3 separate regions of the Homo sapiens genome follow, and all the other regions are linked to region 2. The links are contacts of gene promoters, found by promoter capture Hi-C in blood cells and fetal thymus (Javierre and others, 2016). All regions are on one chromosome and are shown on one strand. Each heading gives the region's core, a stretch centred on a gene start or on the middle of the fragment in contact. The rest is flanking DNA. Distances are from core to core; before and after follow the strand shown. Region 1 holds the start of TEX55 (testis expressed 55). Region 2 holds the start of ARHGAP31-AS1 (ARHGAP31 antisense RNA 1). Region 3 overlaps POGLUT1 (protein O-glucosyltransferase 1).

Evidence for each region. The method cuts DNA at HindIII sites, captures the fragments that hold promoters and counts their contacts. A CHiCAGO score of 5 or more calls a contact.
Region 1: a contact is called between the fragment with the promoter of TEX55 here and the fragment with the promoter of ARHGAP31-AS1 in region 2, in 10 of 17 cell types (non-activated CD4 T cells, naive CD4 T cells, total CD4 T cells and 7 more). The highest score is 14.9, in non-activated CD4 T cells.
Region 3: a contact is called between a fragment that was not itself captured here and the fragment with the promoter of ARHGAP31-AS1 in region 2, in 1 of 17 cell types (megakaryocytes). The highest score is 5.1, in megakaryocytes.

Annotation. Positions count from the first base shown.
Region 1 is chr3:119,144,519-119,147,713 of GRCh38, forward strand. TEX55 (testis expressed 55) reads left to right here and starts at 1,647. Exons shown (of 3, transcript NM_152539.3): 1 at 1,647-3,069. The coding sequence starts at 1,672. It also overlaps a transcript of IGSF11 not described here. RefSeq lists a silencer at 904-1,198. The HindIII fragment of the contact is 11,642 bases long and covers 1-3,195 here.
Region 2 is chr3:119,321,365-119,324,263 of GRCh38, forward strand. It overlaps ARHGAP31-AS1 (ARHGAP31 antisense RNA 1), which reads right to left and starts at 1,396. Exons shown (of 2, transcript NR_046748.1): 1 at 1,250-1,396. The region is part of intron 1 of ARHGAP31 (Rho GTPase activating protein 31); the gene reads left to right. RefSeq lists enhancers at 1,067-1,924, 1,925-2,781 and silencers at 1,344-1,703, 1,754-2,103. The HindIII fragment of the contact is 4,466 bases long and covers 1-2,899 here.
Region 3 is chr3:119,492,659-119,495,614 of GRCh38, forward strand. It overlaps POGLUT1 (protein O-glucosyltransferase 1), which reads left to right. Exons shown (of 11, transcript NM_152305.3): 11 at 1-2,050. Among named protein-coding and RNA genes, the nearest start is that of TIMMDC1, 4.4 kb to the right of the region's middle. The HindIII fragment of the contact is 3,644 bases long and covers 1-2,956 here.

The DNA.
Region 1 (3,195 bases), core at 397-2,896, 180 kb before region 2:
TTTGGAAACTAGACAACATACTTTTAAACAACCAATGTGTCAAAGAAAAAAAAATCACAGAAAATGAGAAAATATCTTCAGATGAATGAAAACATAACACCAAACACTTGAGAGATGCAGCAAAAGCATCAGCTCAGAGGGAAATTTGTAACTATAAAACAGCTACATTTAAAAAAAAGATCTCAAATTGATAAATCATCATTTTGTAAAATATATACATACCTATAGATATAGACACATAGATTTGCATGGGGGTATTTCCAGAAGGATAAACATCAAAATGTCAATACAGGTTATCTCTTGAGTGTTTGGGAATTTTTTTCTTTACGCTTTCTTTTTTATATTTCTATGATTATTACATTTAAGTTATAAAATGGAAAAATAAATCTCCAAAACCAATAGCACTTTGAAGCTACAAGCCATAGCCCAAGACCTATTTTACTCTAAACACAGTATCCAATGGTGTCATGCATTTTTAAATAAATAAGGTAGATAATTCATAAAGTGACATTCAACAAGCACTTCTTGAGCACCTATTATGTTCTAGGCACTGTTACATAAATGACTTTACTTCAGTGTGCTTAGATTCCCCTTTCCATTCCTAAGTATGGTGTCAAGTGTATCCACTCTCCTTTGTCACAAGTATTTGAATTTGGATTTTAAGTCTCATTTCTAATTGTTTAATGCAGTTAAATCCCTACTAAAGGAATATCTGGCATCACACTACCAACCCTTGGCCTGCCTCAGTGATTTCAGGCTTTGCAAGGTCAAAGTAATTTGTCTCATCAATCACCACCTCTGTACTGGCCTACTCCTGAAAGTAGACAGCCTACTGACTCTGAGGTGCATTCTTAAGGTTGATTGCAAAGTGGGAGGACCAAATCTCAAAAACTGGGCCCCACTGGCCAACACTATCAAATACAAATTCTCCACTTGCTAAATATTCCTTCTGGTATCTTTCTCCCACTTTCCTTACTCCCTTCCTTTCTGGAACTCTGATTTGGCCTCCTTCTAACTCGCCTCTCTGCTGTAAGACCACTAGATGGTGCAGTTTTAGAACCCATTCTCACTGGATCTTCTCTCCTCTCTCTGGCTCTCCCGCCACAGATCACATGTCTAATCCAGCAAGAAAACACCTTGGGGCAGGAGTTTCCACTGCCAAGACAGCTATACCCAAAGGGGATGGCAATAGCAACAACCTCTGTTCAGTTTTGTGGTCCTCGTGCAGCTGGTTGTGTGTTCATCTGTTGACATTTGGAGGTGCGGTGGGGGATGTTAATCAGAGGAGCAGTACCTGAGAGAGGGCCTCTTTCTCACACACTGCGGAGAACCTCTGTGAACAAGGAAGAGGGTAACACTCTAGGTGGCGATGCACGGAGCCCCGTGGCCTGGTTGCTCGGCAGGGTGAGGAGAAGCTGTAACTGCCAGAGCCTGAGAATCGCCCCTTCTCAGGACATGGCGTACTCCCTGCGCTCGCCTGCACACTGCAGGGTCAGCTGACTGCCGTCCCTCCACTTACAACAGCGGGACGGCCACTCTCCCTGACGCACGCAGTGACCCGAACAAAGCCCGTGGGAATCATGGGGCGTTCCTGGAGGGTCGCCTAGACGACCCAGCCCAACCCCACCCACAGTGCCTGGCAACCTAGACCAGTCAGGGACGCGGCAGGAAATGGAAGAGCCTCCGCAAGAGGCTCTGGCTGAACCCTTGAAACATGAAAGCCCAGCCGCTCCCTCAAGTGCTGGCCACACTAAGGGCCAGGAAGAAGACGACCAGAAGAACCAGGCCGAAAGGAAGGCAGATAACCACACTGCTCACAGAATAGCTGACCAGACTGCCCTAAGAGTGCCTAGCCAGGCTGAATCCAGCATATTTAGCCAAGCTACCAACGGAGTAGCTGAACAAAATGGGCATAGTACACCTGGTCAGGCTGGCCGCAGAGCATCCAACCCTGCTGATGTTTCTGACCTTAGAGCAGATGATCAGGTTAATCAAACACCGTCTGAACAGACTAAAGGCAAGGCATCTAGCCAAGCTAATAATGTACAGCATGAACAGAGTGATGGTCAGGTGTCTGGCCTGACGGAGGAAAGAACTGCTGAACAGACTGAACGAAGATTACCTACCCAGGCTGAGAGAAGAACTTCTGGGCAGATTGATGGTAGACTGGCTATGCCATCTGACCAGAGAGGTTCCAGACAGACCGACCACAGAATGGCAGGCCAGTCTGAGAGAAGAGCTTCCGAGCAGATGGACCGCAGAATGTCTGGCGAGGCTGAGCGAAGAACTTCTGAGCAGATTACACACAGATTATCCAAACTATCTGAGAGAAGACCTTCTGTGCAGATTGACAGTGGGTCATCCGTCCCATCTGACCAAAGTCCTTCTGTACAGATTGACAGTGGATCGTCCGTACCATCTGACCAAAGACCTTCCGTACAGATTGACCGCAGAATGTCAGGGAAAGTTAGGAGAAGAAGTTCTGAGAAGACTGACTACAGATTGGCTGGCCTGGCTGACCCAGGAACTTCTGAGCAGACTGACCTCAGATTGTATGGCCTCGTTGACCACAAAACATCTGTAAAGACTCACCACCAAGTGTACGGCCAAGCCACTGAACTAGCTGAACACCAGGCTATTGACCAAGCTCATAGTAATGCTGATCAACCTCCAGTTGACAATGCTCACTACACTGAATCTGACCAGACTGACCACTTAGCAGACAGACAAGCTAATCATAAAGACCAGCTGTCTTACTATGAAACACGTGGCCAGTCTGAAGACAGAATATTTCCCCAGTTAGGCAACAGCAAAGAGGACAAAGAGGCTGACTACAGAGTACAACCCTGCAAATTTGAGGATAGCCAAGTAGACCTCAATTCCAAGCCTTCAGTTGAAATGGAAACTCAGAATGCAACCACTATCCCACCCTACAACCCAGTTGATGCCAGATTCACCAGTAACTTCCAAGCAAAAGACCAAGCTCTTTTCCCAAGACTCCCCTCCATCTCATCCAAATTGAACTATACCAGCAGTCAAGAAAAAACTCAAGCCATAGTAACCAAATCTGTAAGTTAAATGGGCATTTGATACCTACCTGGGAGATCAGAGATCTAGACGGGGCCTGGAGAGTAAAAATAGGGGTACAACGGAAGGGCACATGTTGCATCAAGGATAAAGAATAAACCCACATGT
Region 2 (2,899 bases), core at 146-2,645:
ATACTTTTTAATAATACATGCTTATCCTCATTGTAGATAAATTGGGAAATACATAAATGTTTTAGAAAGAAAAAAATACTTGTATGTAATTCTATCACCCAAAGATGTAACATTTTGGTGGATTTCCTTCAAGTGTTTTTTTTCTATGTACATTTTCATATTGTGATTACACTGTGTGTGTGTATATATATATTATATATATATATGATTTTGTGTCTTGCTTTCTTATAACCGAAGTCTTTATTCAAGTTATAAAACCCTACATATAACATTTTAAGGCTCCGTAGGTTTTGTTTTGTTTTGAGACGGAGACTCGCTCTGTTGCCCAGGCCAGAGTGCAGTGTCACGATCTCAGCTCATTGAAGCCTCTACCTCTCGGGCTCAAGTGATTTTCCTGCTTCAGCCTCCCAAGTAGCTGGAACTATAGGCCCACACCACCACGCCCAGCTAACTTGTTTTTGTATTTTTAGTGGAGACGGGGTTTCGCCATGTTGGCCAGGCTGGTCTTGAACTTCTGACCTCGGGTGATCTGCCCGCCTCAGCCTCCCAAAGTGCTGGGATTACAGGCGTGAGCCACCACGCCCGGCCCATAGTAGTTTATCATATAAATATGCCAGTTTATTCCCTGCCTCCATTACTGGACATTTATAGTTATGATTGTTTTAATTTTATGAACAAGCCCACAGTGAATATTGTGAGGCATATGGCTCTTTTGTTATGTAATATTTCTTTGGAATAAACTCCCAGAAGTAAAATTGCTGGATTAAAAGGTGTGTTATTAGTCAGAACTCTCTTGGTTGTGACTGAAGGAACTCTGACATAAGAAAAAAAGTGGGGGTTAATTACTGATTCATAGAAGCAAACTTTGGCAAAGACAAGAAGGGAGCTGGCTTTAGGGAGCTGGGACCAGAGGCTGGAATTTTAACCTCCTGACTTTCTCCTTGTCTCTTGAATTTATCTTAGACATAAATGAAAATAGAGGTAACTCAAAGCGTCTAACCCACAGTGACAATTGCTGCTCTGTTTTTAGAGCCGGGATTTTGTTCGTGGACTTGCCTTGCCTGGTGGTTGAACTTTGCAGCCCCTTCCTCCTCCGGGCAGCTTCTCTCAGTGGCAGCTGTGTTCCCCATGGTTTGTCCTGGATGTCTCCCTTGTGCCATCCTTGCAAGCCCGCGGCCAGCGCCTCCACCCACGCTCCGGCCTTGCTCCCACTCCCACCGCTCTGCCACCTCCCACCTCAGCCTCCCACCTTGGTGTGGAGGGACCAGCGTCGAAGACAAAGGAATCTCTGACGAGAACCGGCCAGTCCGGGAGGGACGGCGGGGAAGGGGGTGCTGCTCTGGCGGAGCCCTCACTTCACTCGCTTCCCCTCGAGCGCCCCTCTAGGCTGGGGCCCGGCCGCTCTGGGCCTGCTCCTCCTCCCGCTCCTGTTGCGGGGCACCAGGTCAGACCCTACAGGGGGCTCCGCCAGGGGGAGGGGGAGAGGGGCTCCCTTCAAACTCGGCCCGGCCGCGGGGGTCCCGGGTGCCCTCTGCTGGGCTCCTTCCACGTCCTTGTCCCTCCTGAACTCCCGTTCCAGCCCTGCCCCCGCCCCGCAGTAGGGAACGGACTCGTTTCTGCCCCGCCCCGGGGTCCGGGCGCCCGCCCGGCGCTTCAGCTTCAGCAACGTCAAGGCCACGTTCCCTCCGCTCCAGCTCGAAAGACGGTGGCGCTGACTCTGCTCTGCGCGCCGCAGCTTCCTCCCGCTGCTCCGCCCAGCGGTTTCTGATCCCCTTTCGGCGCTGGGGACTCACACGCTGCGGCGACAGGAAAGCCCGCGCCCCCGGCCGCTTCCCGGAACGCCCTCGGGGACGGCTGAGTCACTTGGCGCCCGCCCGCGCGGCCACCGAGCCCAGAAGCGGGGAAAGCCCAGAAGCGGGGAAACCCCAGGGACAGCCGCCGGCCCTGGGGGCAGCCAGCGCTCCAGGCCGCCCAGCACCTCGGGCCCGGATGGGCTTCTCGCGCCCCAGGGCTGCGGCCACACCCCGCCGGCCCAGACCCCGCGGGTAGAGAAAGGAGGTGCAACCCTGAGAGCCAAGACGTTGGGCTTGGCTTTGCTTTGCGTTTCTTTCCTTTTTTCTTTTGTTTCTTTTCTTCTTCTTTTTTTTTTAACCACATCCAGGAAGAGGAGAAACCTGTCTCATGACAGGAAACGAAGAGGGAGGATGCATCCGAACTGAGGGACATTGTTTCAGTTGCCTCACCTGACATACTGTCTCACCTGAGAGAGGGAGGCCGAAGAGGCAGCCAATGGTGGCTGGAGCAAGCCCTGTCCTCGTTACCTGGGCTGTGGCTGAGCCCTGGGGCTCACCGGCTGTATGGCCCTGGGCAAGTCCTCGGAGCCTTAGGTTCTCTGCAAAATGGAGATGATGTTTAATAGAAAATGTTTCTATAACTTTTGTGGCTTACTTTTTGAAAAGCGAGGGAGGGACTTTTGTCCTTCCCTCCTCGCATCTCAGTCGCAGTGCTGGTTCACAATCAGGCTGTTAACGCGGTTTCCACATTTCCTGTCCTCCCCCTTCCCCTTTCCTGCTGGGAATAAGAAGGTGGGCCCCCAAGGAGACAGAGGGTACACTCGTAAATGAAAAAGAAAAGTCAGCACAAGGACCCTTTGCTGCGGAGATTTCTTTTTCCAGGTATCCTAAGTGGGGCTCTTGCCATCCCTGCCATCCCTGCTCTACACCGAAGGGGTGAAGTCCTGGGACTCTGTTATGCCCATCTGTATGTAATCCTAGGCAAGATTATTACAGTAGCGCTTTCCTCTTTTTAGAATATACCCTTGTCTAGCCCCTACCCCATCTTCAGGACAGTAAAGGTTCTCAACTCACTTCAAACCCTCCTAGCCGTCTAGAACAGTGGC
Region 3 (2,956 bases), core at 425-2,924, 170 kb after region 2:
CCAGAAATCGTGAGATGTGGATTTTGAACCCAACTCTACCTTTCATTTTCTTAAGACCAATCACAGCTTGTGCCTCAGATCATCCACCTGTGTGAGTCCATCACTGTGAAATTGACTGTGTCCATGTGATGATGCCCTTTGTCCCATTATTTGGAGCAGAAAATTCGTCATTTGGAAGTAGTACAACTCATTGCTGGAATTGTGAAATTATTCAAGGCGTGATCTCTGTCACTTTATTTTAATGTAGGAAACCCTATGGGGTTTATGAAAAATACTTGGGGATCATTCTCTGAATGGTCTAAGGAAGCGGTAGCCATGCCATGCAATGATGTAGGAGTTCTCTTTTGTAAAACCATAAACTGTGTTACTCAGGAGGTTTCTATAATGCCACATAGAAAGAGGCCAATTGCATGAGTAATTATTGCAATTGGATTTCAGGTTCCCTTTTTGTGCCTTCATGCCCTACTTCTTAATGCCTCTCTAAAGCCAAAAAAAAAAAAAAAGACAAAGCCTCTTAATAAATTTAATGGAACTATACATAGAACAGCAGCTCTTCCTCACCCTTTGCATACCTTTAATATTTTTCCTTCTTAAATTGGCCACAGCAGGGGTCATTCACACTCTCACTGTCTTGCAGGAATCACAAGAAGTCTTCATATGTGAACGTGCCATTCAGTTGGTAGTTAAGAGCATTCAACTTCAAATATATAGAAGATATTTGTTTTAGTGCAAATCCATGATGGAGTGCCTCCCTTTTCCTTTTTTCACTTTTTGAAAAAGATGTTTTGGGTAGTAGTTTAATATCTCAGGGTGCTCTTTCTAACATAGTAAAAAATGAAGAAAAATGTTTAGATTAAAACTCTGTAGTCTGATGACTTAGAACCATCCTTGACCCTTAGGCCCAACCTTTCCACAGAGAAATCACCTCTCTTCCTTTGTCTTTTAAGAACTATTTGGTATTAACTAGTTTCAGAATTAGTAAATGTGAGATTCAGTCACATAATTATCAGACATTCCATTTGTCAGAAATGTATTTGGCTTTTTAAACTCCTTTCCACAAAAGTTTAAGTCTAATGACCTTCTTAGAGAAGTTGAGCATGCCTGGCAAGATCATTTCATGGAATAAGCAGATGTTTAAAGTTGGATTTTTTTTTTTTTTTTTTTTTGAGTACTAGCAATGCACAGGGACCGTGTTCTTAGGTTCTTAGTCTGTGAATCTAGCAATAGGCAGTCCAGATTTCTGAGTCGTACTATGGTTTTGCCTTGTCACTGTGAGGCCCTACTAGGTGTAAGCATTCTCTCTGAATTTTAATTTCCTCTCATTAAAATAGGAACAAAATTTGCTATCCTTTAGATTAGGAGCTGAAGATTCATTTCCCTGGGAATGTTTCCCATTTAGCTTCAAGTTTCAGCTCAAACATCACCTTCTTTCTGACTCCTTTCATTCATTCCTCCAGGCAGTAAGGGGCTACCATAGTACTTTGTTTATGCCTGTATTATATGACATCACTGTAGTTGCTTGACTGTTTCTCCTACTGTTCTGTAAACTTATTAATGGGTGAGAATCTAATTTTACTCATCTTGATGGCTTCATGATCCAGCACAGTGCCTCACACAAAGAACTATTGGGTGGGTGGATGGATGGATGGAGGAATGGAGACAGTTGGCTTAACCAGATCCTATATACAGATTATTACTGGCTCCAAAGGATGAGTAGATAAGACCATAAGAATTGGATCAATGTAAATCCTCACCTGCCCTTTGAAGAGCCAATAAGGGCATCTTTGTCTTTAAATACAGCAAATGTTATTCAGATTTTGTACTTGTCTATCTGTTTACCTCAGTGTAGATGATATGAGGATGGTATAACTATGTAAATTGTTTTTGAAAATAATTTGTTTCCCCACAACTTTTGAAGGTTTTATTTGTTGTTGTTATTACTAGTTCAGTCCCAAACTTACCCTTTCCTTTTCAGAGAGCTAATGGCCATGCTTTTCTTCAAGGAAAGAATAATTTATTTGAATGAAGTGGGATACTTGCATAACACAAATAATGCTTTGTCTTTATTTATTTCGGGAGTGTTATCTATGTGCTGTCAGTGACCCACCTTATTCTACTATATCAGTTCAGATTTTCCTAGTGGTCAAGAACAGAAACTGCCTCTAGCTAGTTTAAGCAAAGTAACTTACTAGAAGGACATGAGGGCATCTCGTGGAATCTAAAAAGGTTTCACAGTGGTTAGAAGGATAGAAGCAAGGGCACCTCCAGGAATCTCAGCAAGAATTTTGACTGTTTCCAGGGTGCTACTATAATGCAGTTCCATTACCTATTGGGCTCTGTCTCAGCTCAAAATTCCCAAGGACAAAAACTTTAATGGACTCATTTGGGTCACCTCCAAGAGTTCCCTACACTTAACCCCTAGACTGACTACAAACAAGAGCACAAACAGGCCAGACACAGTGGTTCACACCTGTAATCCCAGCTCTTTGGGAGGCCAAGGCAGAAGAATCACTTGAGCCCAGGAGTTCAAGACCAGCCTGGGCAACATGGTGAGACCTCGGCTCTACAAAAAAAAAAAAAAAAAAAAAAAAAAAAAAAAAAAAAGAGGCAGGAAGATAGCTTGAGTTCGCAATGTTGAGGCTGCAGTGAGCCATGATCATGCCACTGTACTGTACTTCCACCTGGGCAATGGGAATAAGACCCTGTTTCTCAAAAAAAAAAAAAAAAAAAGCACAGATACACAAAAGTCTATCTTTACATGCATCTAAAGATGCCCTCTCTTAGGATAATCTTACTGCATCCAGAGGTAAGGTGTTGTGGATGGAGCAGAGAGTTATATTTACAAGTCACTCATTTAATACTTACCAGATACTTCTTAAGCATCTACTATGCACAGAGACAAGGAAAGTTTACAAGAGGCTCCCAAACCTCAAGGGGCTGTGCCGTTGAGATGATA